3 separate regions of the Homo sapiens genome follow, and regions 2 and 3 are each linked to region 1. The links are contacts of gene promoters, found by promoter capture Hi-C in blood cells and fetal thymus (Javierre and others, 2016). All regions are on one chromosome and are shown on one strand. Each heading gives the region's core, a stretch centred on a gene start or on the middle of the fragment in contact. The rest is flanking DNA. Distances are from core to core; before and after follow the strand shown.

The links. The method cuts DNA at HindIII sites, captures the fragments that hold promoters and counts their contacts. A CHiCAGO score of 5 or more calls a contact.
Region 2: a contact is called between a fragment that was not itself captured here and the fragment with the promoter of AGPAT4 in region 1, in 1 of 17 cell types (M0 macrophages). The highest score is 7.1, in M0 macrophages.
Region 3: a contact is called between a fragment that was not itself captured here and the fragment with the promoter of AGPAT4 in region 1, in 2 of 17 cell types (total CD8 T cells and non-activated CD4 T cells). The highest score is 9.3, in total CD8 T cells.

The regions. Positions count from the first base shown.
Region 1 is chr6:161,272,563-161,275,525 of GRCh38, forward strand. AGPAT4 (1-acylglycerol-3-phosphate O-acyltransferase 4) reads right to left here and starts at 1,499. Exons shown (of 9, transcript NM_020133.3): 1 at 1,376-1,499. The HindIII fragment of the contact is 1,627 bases long and covers 448-2,074 here.
Region 2 is chr6:163,662,662-163,665,624 of GRCh38, forward strand. LOC102724152 (a long non-coding RNA gene) reads right to left here. Exons shown (of 2, transcript NR_134620.1): 2 at 1,705-1,996. Among named protein-coding and RNA genes, the nearest start is that of QKI, 250 kb to the left of the region's middle. The HindIII fragment of the contact is 4,562 bases long and covers 1-2,963 here.
Region 3 is chr6:163,415,883-163,418,845 of GRCh38, forward strand. The region is part of intron 1 of QKI (QKI, KH domain containing RNA binding); the gene reads left to right. Among named protein-coding and RNA genes, the nearest start is that of QKI, 2.6 kb to the left of the region's middle. The HindIII fragment of the contact is 1,716 bases long and covers 687-2,402 here.

The DNA of each region.
Region 1 (2,963 bases), core at 249-2,748:
CTAAGTAGATAATAATTTTCTCATTTCATATTTTTTCTGAATAACAGTTTTTCTCCCCATAGAGAATATTCAGAAGATGGAATCCTTTTAACGTAGAACTCAAGATGTGCCCTGTTCTCCCTGCCCGCCTCCCATTTCCCTAAACACACACACACACACACACACACACAAACACACACATTCTCCCTTCTCTCAAGATACTTTTTTTCCAACTGAGAGTCGTTGACTAATCACAGATGAGTTAATCCTTCCACAGTTTTGAAAAAGTCTAGCAACCCTCACCTTGAAGAGAGTGAATAGCGTGGCTAATCCATCTAAGAACAATGCACGAAAACGAAAAACGGAGAATCCTGCCCGGCAGTTAATTTGTTACTCATACTTGTTGAACTTAAGATTTGGAGCTAAATAAGTGCAGATGAGAGCAAAGACCCATCTTTTAAATATTTAAGCTTTTAGGCAAACCTGGGCAGGCAATATCACATTTATCAGTGCGAATTCTCCAATGCTCTCTAAAACTTTATTTCAATGATCTCACCTCCTGTAAGGAATTAATTCCCCCTTAGCTTGACCACAGGATCAATATCTTATCTTAAGAAGTGTTTAGGTTTTCTAAAAAAAGACCAGACACTGAAGACTTACATAAACATCAAAGCATTCTTTTTTTAATTCCTCGATATGGAGAAATTCATAGGCCGAAAATTAGGTAAATAGAGAGGTAATTACCAATGCCTGTTTCCTTGACAACTCCCCTCCCCCACCCCTCCTGTGATAGGGAAAAACCAAAATGAAAGTGAGGAGGGGTAGCCACAAGCCATGCTGGATTTTAGCAAACCAAAGCAAGAAGCAGAGCAGAAAGCTGCAAACTAGACACAAAATACAAATAAATCAATGTATATCGGGGCTGCATATTGTGTAGTATTTTTGTGGTTGCCATAGAAACGTCAGCGACGGAAGAACATGTTGCATGACACAAAAGAGAGCAATATGTAATAGGAACATTCCCCCCACCACCACCCCCCGCCCAGCTTCGTCTATAGCAGAGAAAATGCTTTAGCCCCGGGAGGGGGCTGGGTGGGTGGGTAAATGAAGCCAGGAACAGCAGCTTGAAATCACAGCCCAGAAAGGGACGCTCACCCGGCCCAGCACAAAGCGAGGGTCCTTTTGTACCAGCAGAGCCTCTCTTCGCCTCCCTCCAGGCGCCCCCTGCACCTTTCCCCCGCCCGCCTTGCACTCCCCCCCCGCCCCCGGAGCCTACCCCTTCCAGAGGTCCTAAGGAAATCCAGCCCAGGAGAGAAAAATATGCTGGGAAGAGGAATGCAAACATCAGCCACACCCAGCGGGGAAGGTGCCTGCGAACGGCACCAGGACCACATACCTCCTTCCTGGCAGCCTTTGGCACATGGACTTAGAAACCAGAAGCTGAGATGGAGCCGGCTGGGTTCAGAAATTGCCACTAGTTTATAAGAGCTGTAAGTCAGCCAACACTGGAAAGAAAAAGCGAGACTCCACCCATGGGGTGGACCCTTCAGGAAGAAAAAAAAAAAAAAAGTGGTCCTCAGCTGACGTCTCTCCCCACCCATGTCACTTCCTTTTAAAGCTACAAGTTAGCAGTTGCCGAGAGGGAAGAGCGAGCTGGTGTAATATGAGTCACTCCCTTCCCCTTCCAATTAGTGTAAGGCAGTGCTTCAGTTGGCTTCACGTTTGAAATCGCTTTTGAAATCTGGCTCGGGAAGCTGCCAGGATAAAAAAAAAATGAAAGCCCCCTGGAAGTGGCCTTGCTTTCTCTCCCCTTTCTCCCAAATCCTGTTGCATCCCTGCGCCCTAACGGCTCCTCTAACCTCAACCCAGACTCCGGCTCCGTCTGTGTTGCAACCTGGAAATTGTCCTCAGTTGGCTCATTTTTAATTCAGCAAGCGTAGGATCAATATGCCCACCCTCAAAACTCTCCCCTCACCTCTCCTCGGTCCGCTGTGCTGGAAGGAGATTGCGTTGCACTCAGAAGAGTCCAAATCATCTTAAACAAAATAAGCCTCAGCACTCAAGAGATTGAGATGTTATGAAGTGGGATGAAAGAAGCTTGGAGGTCGATTGATGTATTTTCTGTTTTCAAACCTTAGCACCATGGTTGATTACCACTGCACAGGCGTGCACACACGTACTGTCGCATGCTCACATGCACGTGGCATTTACACAGGTGTATCAGAGAGGGTCTGGGCAGACCTTTATAGTAAAAGTGTCTTCACAATTTTTAAAAAGGGTGGGCTGTTGAAAGTCCAGAAATGCCAGGATCTAGAAAATTATTTCAATTTCAAAATACTGAGGTGTATTCCTTTCAAATGTCCACTATTACAGCCATTGTCAAAATAATATTTAACTATTTACTTGACTCCTGGGTTAACCTTGTTCTTTAGATGTTTATAATCTATAAAGGAAAAATACATGTGCTCACAAATAGCCCAAGCACATTGCAGAATTACTAACAGCTATGCAAGTGTCAAAACCAGTGTGTCATGAAGACAGAATAGAAAGTGCTTTTTTGATTGCGATGGGGGAAGGCATTGATCATTCAGGAAACAGGGTTTGGAGTGGGTCCTATGGGAGGTGGCATTTTTCTTGTCTGTGATGAGAGACGGGGAGAGTGAAGCAGAATGTGGTGGAAGAGAAAGGATATGTGAGGCAAACAAAAAAAGGATCAGAACAGAAACCCATTTGTAGCAATAACTTGTTTTAATATCCATGTGAAAATAAATTTGACCACAGAGTAATGCTTATAAAAGATTTTTATAAAAAGTTCCTTGTAGTCATCATCTCTCGTAACTTTTCGAACTATGTTTTACGACCCATGTGCTTCTAGATTTGGTGGAAACTTGAGTTTTTCAAAGTGTTTTTCAAGTAGAGTTACACTGTTTTTCACGGTTGAATTCTGAATGGTAATTTATTTCAAAACCTACAAATTGCATAAA
Region 2 (2,963 bases), core at 224-2,723, 2.4 Mb after region 1:
GCCCTGGGAGGGAACGCGTGTGACAAGGACAGAAACCCAGCGTCCAGCCGCAGTGTGTGCGGTCCCCTGACACAGAGATGTAGATTCAGTGACAGAGCCCAGGCCACTGAGCCATTTCCCTCTTTACTCCTGGGCTCGGGAGTAACATATTCAAGGGACCTCTAAACAGAAATATTGGTTAGTCTGTGGATTTGAAGCAAAACAGAGAAAGGGCTTGCCCAGATTCCTCCCCGTGCTTCACGGCAGGACCCAGAGTCCTCAGGCCCTTCTGGACCCCCGCCGGCTTCATTCCTAGACACTGAGCCATGGTCCCTGCCCTCTGGTTGCAGGGGTGACATGGGCATATAGAATGACAAACTCCAAAGCTGACTCAAGGCCACGTGGGGCTGAGTGTCCAATGGAAAAGGAACAGGAGGGTGGCCCGGGAGGTGGTGCAGAGCCCAGCGCTAGGGCCAGTGCACTGGGGTTTCAGCACCCGAATGGCTGCTTATCAGTGGTGACCTTGGGTATGTCCATTGTCGTCTTAGTGCCTCAGTTTCCCCAACTGAGAATGGTAGCTAATAATAGTACCTACAACGAGGATTCGATTAGTCCTTCCCAGAAAGCCCTAAGCAGAGTGCCTAGCTCACAGAAGCTGTTCCGATAAAGGCTAAACTGAAGAGCCTCCTTCCTTGACCTATATGGCTTCTATAAGTTCATGGGAATGAGCCCTCTCCTCTGGTTGGGCCGAGCAGAGGAGGCTCCATGGAGGAAGAAGGATCTAAACTGGGCCTTGGGAGATGGTTAGGGTTTTGTTAGGTGAGGAAGACAAGGGAGGGGGCTCTGGGAGGGAGAACTGCGAGAACAAGGCCTGGAGGCAGGGGAGGTGGAGGGGCCGCTTGCTTGGAGTTGGGGACTCAGTGCTGTTGGGTCGCCCACTCCTGATGGTCACCTTTCTGGGTGAGGAGCTGGTCTGGATGAATCCTGAGAATGAATCACGAAAGGATGCCATAGCTTCTTATGGAAACTCCACTGGCATGTGGGCATGGGAGCCAAGTTCATGTGCCGGAGAGAAGCCGCCAGGGCTGGCTGCGGCAGAGAGTTTATTTTGGACAAAAGTGAGGGACATCAAAAGCAAGCTCGAAGCAAGCAATGGCTGAAGGCAGGGAAGGAAGGTATTATCAAATGTCATCATGGGGACACCGTGACTGCCAAATGCCAGTCAGATCTGAGTCAACATTGGGATATTTTGGGGTCATTATAAAGACTCTGAAGGCTCAATGGTTTTTCTCGCCAGGACACAGTCCTTGCATCCTGCCTGAAGGCTTTCAGGTCATGCCCTTTGCTGAGCCCTCCTATGTGCCCACCTTAATGTCGCTGTGTCTGGAGACCCCCCATTGCTGGTTTGAGACAGCTCCCTCTTCCTTCTACCTGAGCAGTCCTCCTTCTGCAACCAAGATGAACACTCTCACCCACAGTTACAGCCTTCCCACAATGAGCGTATCCCCCATTGCTCCTGGGCTCCTCCACCAGCCTTAGGCCTCATCCCCTCTTGGGATCACTGATGGCTCCTTTTCAATGATAGGAAGAAAGCTGAATCCCTGTGAATATGGTCTATATGGCATTTAGCAGCTTCCTGGGAAAGAGGGGGTACAAGTGGTCAGGACTATTCCTGGATTGCAGCCTTGAAACTAAGGGACATAATTGCAGAATCTAATTTTTGGCTGAGATTTCTCTAAGTGCCATATTTAATGTGACACCACTCTGTGGGGGTTGCTCTCACCCTTGGTTGGTCAGAGGTATCTGGAATACCCAGAAGGTTCTCTTGAACTCCAGAGAGAAGCGAGGGCCTTCTTGGGGCAGATTGGACTTCTGGATTTGGGCCTGATGGAGACAGCACTTCCAGGGTCAGCAGATACAGGCATTCTGGAGTGGGCTGAGAAGCATCTTGCCCGCTTGCAAAGTGGCACCCATTTCCACGGGCTGACAGAGTCCTATGCGGCAGAGGGACGGTGTCCTAGCAAATGAACGAATTTTGGGTGAAACACAGTTCTTCACAAACTTTAAATGCAAGAAGTTAAAGACTGACCAGTTCAGATAGAATTGGCTTAAAGAAGCAGACTGGATACCCGGCTCAGAACCTGCAAGCATGAGGATGCAGCAGGGCTGGACCAGGTGAGCGTCTCTGCCCCCAACCCTTATGAGTCAATCTTTCAGGGCACAGCAAAGCCTTCATCAGTCTTGGTTTCTCTTGGGATTAAAAGTAAATTATGTAATGGATTTTGAGTATATGGTCTCTAGTGCCCTAATTTCTCTTGAAGGAGAGAAATTATCCAATAGGAAGGGAAATTGACAAAAAGCCTGCATTGACTCCATCAGTTAATCAACAGGGATATATCGGCAAGGTGATTAACTCTACTAGAAGACCACAGCTCTGGCCAATTCTATTTTAAATCCAAGTAAGGGTGGTAGAAAATGTATATTTTCAAGTCTGGCCTAACAGTTATATACATACACAGATTTCATAGATTGATGCAAAGAAAAGGTATCTGGGGAGAGGCAGTTTGTGTCATTTATTCATTTCTTGAAAAATTGAGTGTTTGCTGTGTCCAAGCCACCATTTTTAGCATTTTGGGACACACACTTTACACCCAGAGACACACACAGACACACACCCAGAGACACTCATACACACAGACATAGGCTAATACATACAGAGTCACACTCACACAGACACACCCAGAAACACTCATACACACACACACAGTCACACACACAGAGTGACACTCACACTGATACACACACAGACACAGTCACATACAGACATACACCCAGAAACACTCATACACACACACACACACACAGAGTCACACACACAGAGTCACACTCACACAGATACACAGACACACAGACACAGTCACATATAGACATACACCCAGAAACACTCATACATACACACACACACACACACACACACAGAGTCA
Region 3 (2,963 bases), core at 295-2,794, 2.1 Mb after region 1:
ATACTAAGTGGAAGTCAGTGTGGGGCTCGTTAGTTTAAAGAAATTCCGTAGGAGACCGAAATTATGCTGGCGTAGCCGACAAGGAGGACTAAGTGACGGCGAAAAGCACTTTTTTCCCTTTTGTTTGGGGAAGCGAGAACTGTTAGGGAGTTGAACTTCACTTTTCGGGGGTGGGGGGGGGGGGGGTGGAGTGCGAAATAACGCGATGACAGATCGGAGCGCAGCCTGAGTTAGAAGAACTTGGGCGGAGGGTTTGCTCCCGGGGACGCAGCCGCCTGAGTTTGTAGGACAGGGTTTCGAGACGTTTGGAAAGGGCGAAATAAAATTGAGCCAAAGTTTCCAAAAAGCTGTATGGAGCGCTGTGGGGAGTGAAGAATGACAAGAAGATTAATGTTGACCAACTTTGGAATTTCCTTAAGAAGTTCTCATAGCAGTACCTGAAGTATTAATTTCTAGTAGCTGTGGGTTTCTGTGGACGCCTAGAGAAAAAAAAGACCACAAAAAAAGTCTGTTTCGAAAATCGACTGGCCAGGAGTTTGTTTGTTTTTTTTTCCTGCTTAGAGGCACCACCGGAGGACTGTGTAAAGGAAACTGAAAACTACAGGTTGAAGAGATGAACAATGGAGTTTAGATTTTTCGCAAGAATTTCGAGATTTTAAAAATAGAGTCGGGGAACAGGAGTTTGAAGCTTGGGGAGTTGGAATGTCACTAGAGAACAAAAGGCCGGAAATGTTTCCATGATAAAAAATGGTTAAAGAAAAATCCCAGGAGTTCTGTTGTCTTGAAAGTCATAGAAACAACTTAAAAGTAGAAAATGGTTAGGTGTTACGGCTTTCTCGTCGTTTTGCTTCCGTATGTTAAACATACAGCACTCACCAACGTTGAAATGGGCATTTTCCGCTGTTGGAACAGCAAATCTGTTAATTTCAAGTTGCTCCAGAGAAAACCTGAGCTGTCCCTTTAAGGGGTTCTGCTTTTCCTATTTGTGTTGGCATTTGAAAGATTGTGGAGGCAGAAAACTTTCTGGAATGTCAAAAAAAAAAAAAAAATGCTGGAACTCTTAAATTGAGTATTTCCAAATGTGAGCGCTAAGGGGCGCCAGTTATTTTTTAACCATGGAAATGGTTGGAACAAAATGTGTAACATACTCAATCTGACTGACCTATATTAAATTTAGTTGAAACTTAAGTTATAGATTATTTGATTTGTCATAATGTGTTTATATAGTGTTTTCGAACATTGAAAATACTTTCCTTAAAATTATTGGCACAACTTTATGACGTTTCAAAATAACACTCTTACTGTCTTCTCCTTGGCATATTTTGGTTAAGTTAAAGTTTTAGTAGTATTAGTAACAATTTCTGGTGAAAGTTTGTTTTCTTGAGTGCAGTTGTTTAGAAGGAATCCTTTATCGACGATAAAATGAAAATAGGCCTTGGCAATATTTAGGGTTAATTAAAATTAAATTGCATTCCTGAAATGTCGAATTCAAAGACTATAGGAGATTCCAAAAAAAAGTTTGAAAATACTTTCACCTTATGTATACTATTTAAAAAGCTGCATACTTTTGCGTTCTTTAGTTTTAAAAGGCTTCTTGTGCTTTTATGTTGATCTAAAATCTCTAAATTTAGAGCTGATTCCTTGTTATCAAGTTTCCAACCTTAGGCTTTAATAATTTTTAATCTTTCAAATCCAGAAATTTCAATTATGTCATTGTCTCTGACAAAGGCTTATTTCTCTCTGGTTGGAAATAGTACTCGTTTGCGTTTTAAATGTAAGAGACCACTATGATATCTCCTAGATAATGTTTGTTTCCCCTTCCCCTTTTAATGTGGTTTACTCCATCTCTTGTCTTGCTATCTTTAGTTTTAGCCTTGTCAATTCCCCAGTGTAAAGATTGCTTCTGTGTGGCATATAGTATGTTTAAAATGGGCAATATAATGACGAGGAAGTTTGATTGTTTTTTATCAGACCAGTACAAACATGCAGGAAAAAGGGCTATTCCTTAGTGTGGAATAAGCGGCTTCCTGTAATTGTTAGCCTTGTTATAAACTTAATTTGACTTAAGAAAAATATTGGTTTCTGAAGTCCATCACATTTTTTTTTCTGGATGATTTAATTGTGAAATTTGGCATCTTGTGCTTTACCCCTTTGTGGTTTGTCATTGTCCAAAACAAATTGATCATGACTTTTGTTTCTGGTTAGGCATTACTTTTTTTTTTTTGCCTATAATGCTTGGCTGAAAAATTACTTTTAAATTTAGATAAAATTTAGTAAAAATTTTACTTTAGTGATTGGTTTGATGAAGTTAACATCGTGCTTAGAGTAGATGTATTTTCTGATAATTAGGAATTTTAAATGAGATTTTAAATTTTTTATTTTAAAATATTTTTCAAAGAATAAGCTTTTTAAAAATATGCTTGTCAGCCTAAGAATTTCCATTTGGCTAGTTACAAATTTGAGGATTAAGTGTGCTGGTTTTCCCAGTTGATGAAGACTTGGATGTTTTAGAATGAGTATTTTAATTCCTTGCCAAGTTAACCTTTAGTCTGTATCTTGACTGTGGACAGTCCTTTTGTTTTACTGCTTGTTTTTGTTTTGTTTTGTTTTTTGCTGTTGCTGGTGGTGGGGGTGTGTGTGCCAGCTCTTCCACTGAAGTATCTTCAACACGGTTGTTTTTTAAAGTTGTGAATACATTTTAGGTTGGGCCCATCATAAAATATAAAGGACATAAACTTGAGTTTGAAACCTTTTATTGAAGATAGAGATGATTATAGGATTACACATAAAACCTAGGTCTTAAACTGCTCTACCTTTAGAGAGACGTTTTCAACTGAACCCTTAGAGCAGTTAATATATGGTTTTTAAAAAAACAGACTTTTCTTGTCATGAGAATGAAACAACAGTAGTTGAATGCAAATTGTTATAATAAAGTTTTGTAATTTAGAATCGAGAAGGTGAAG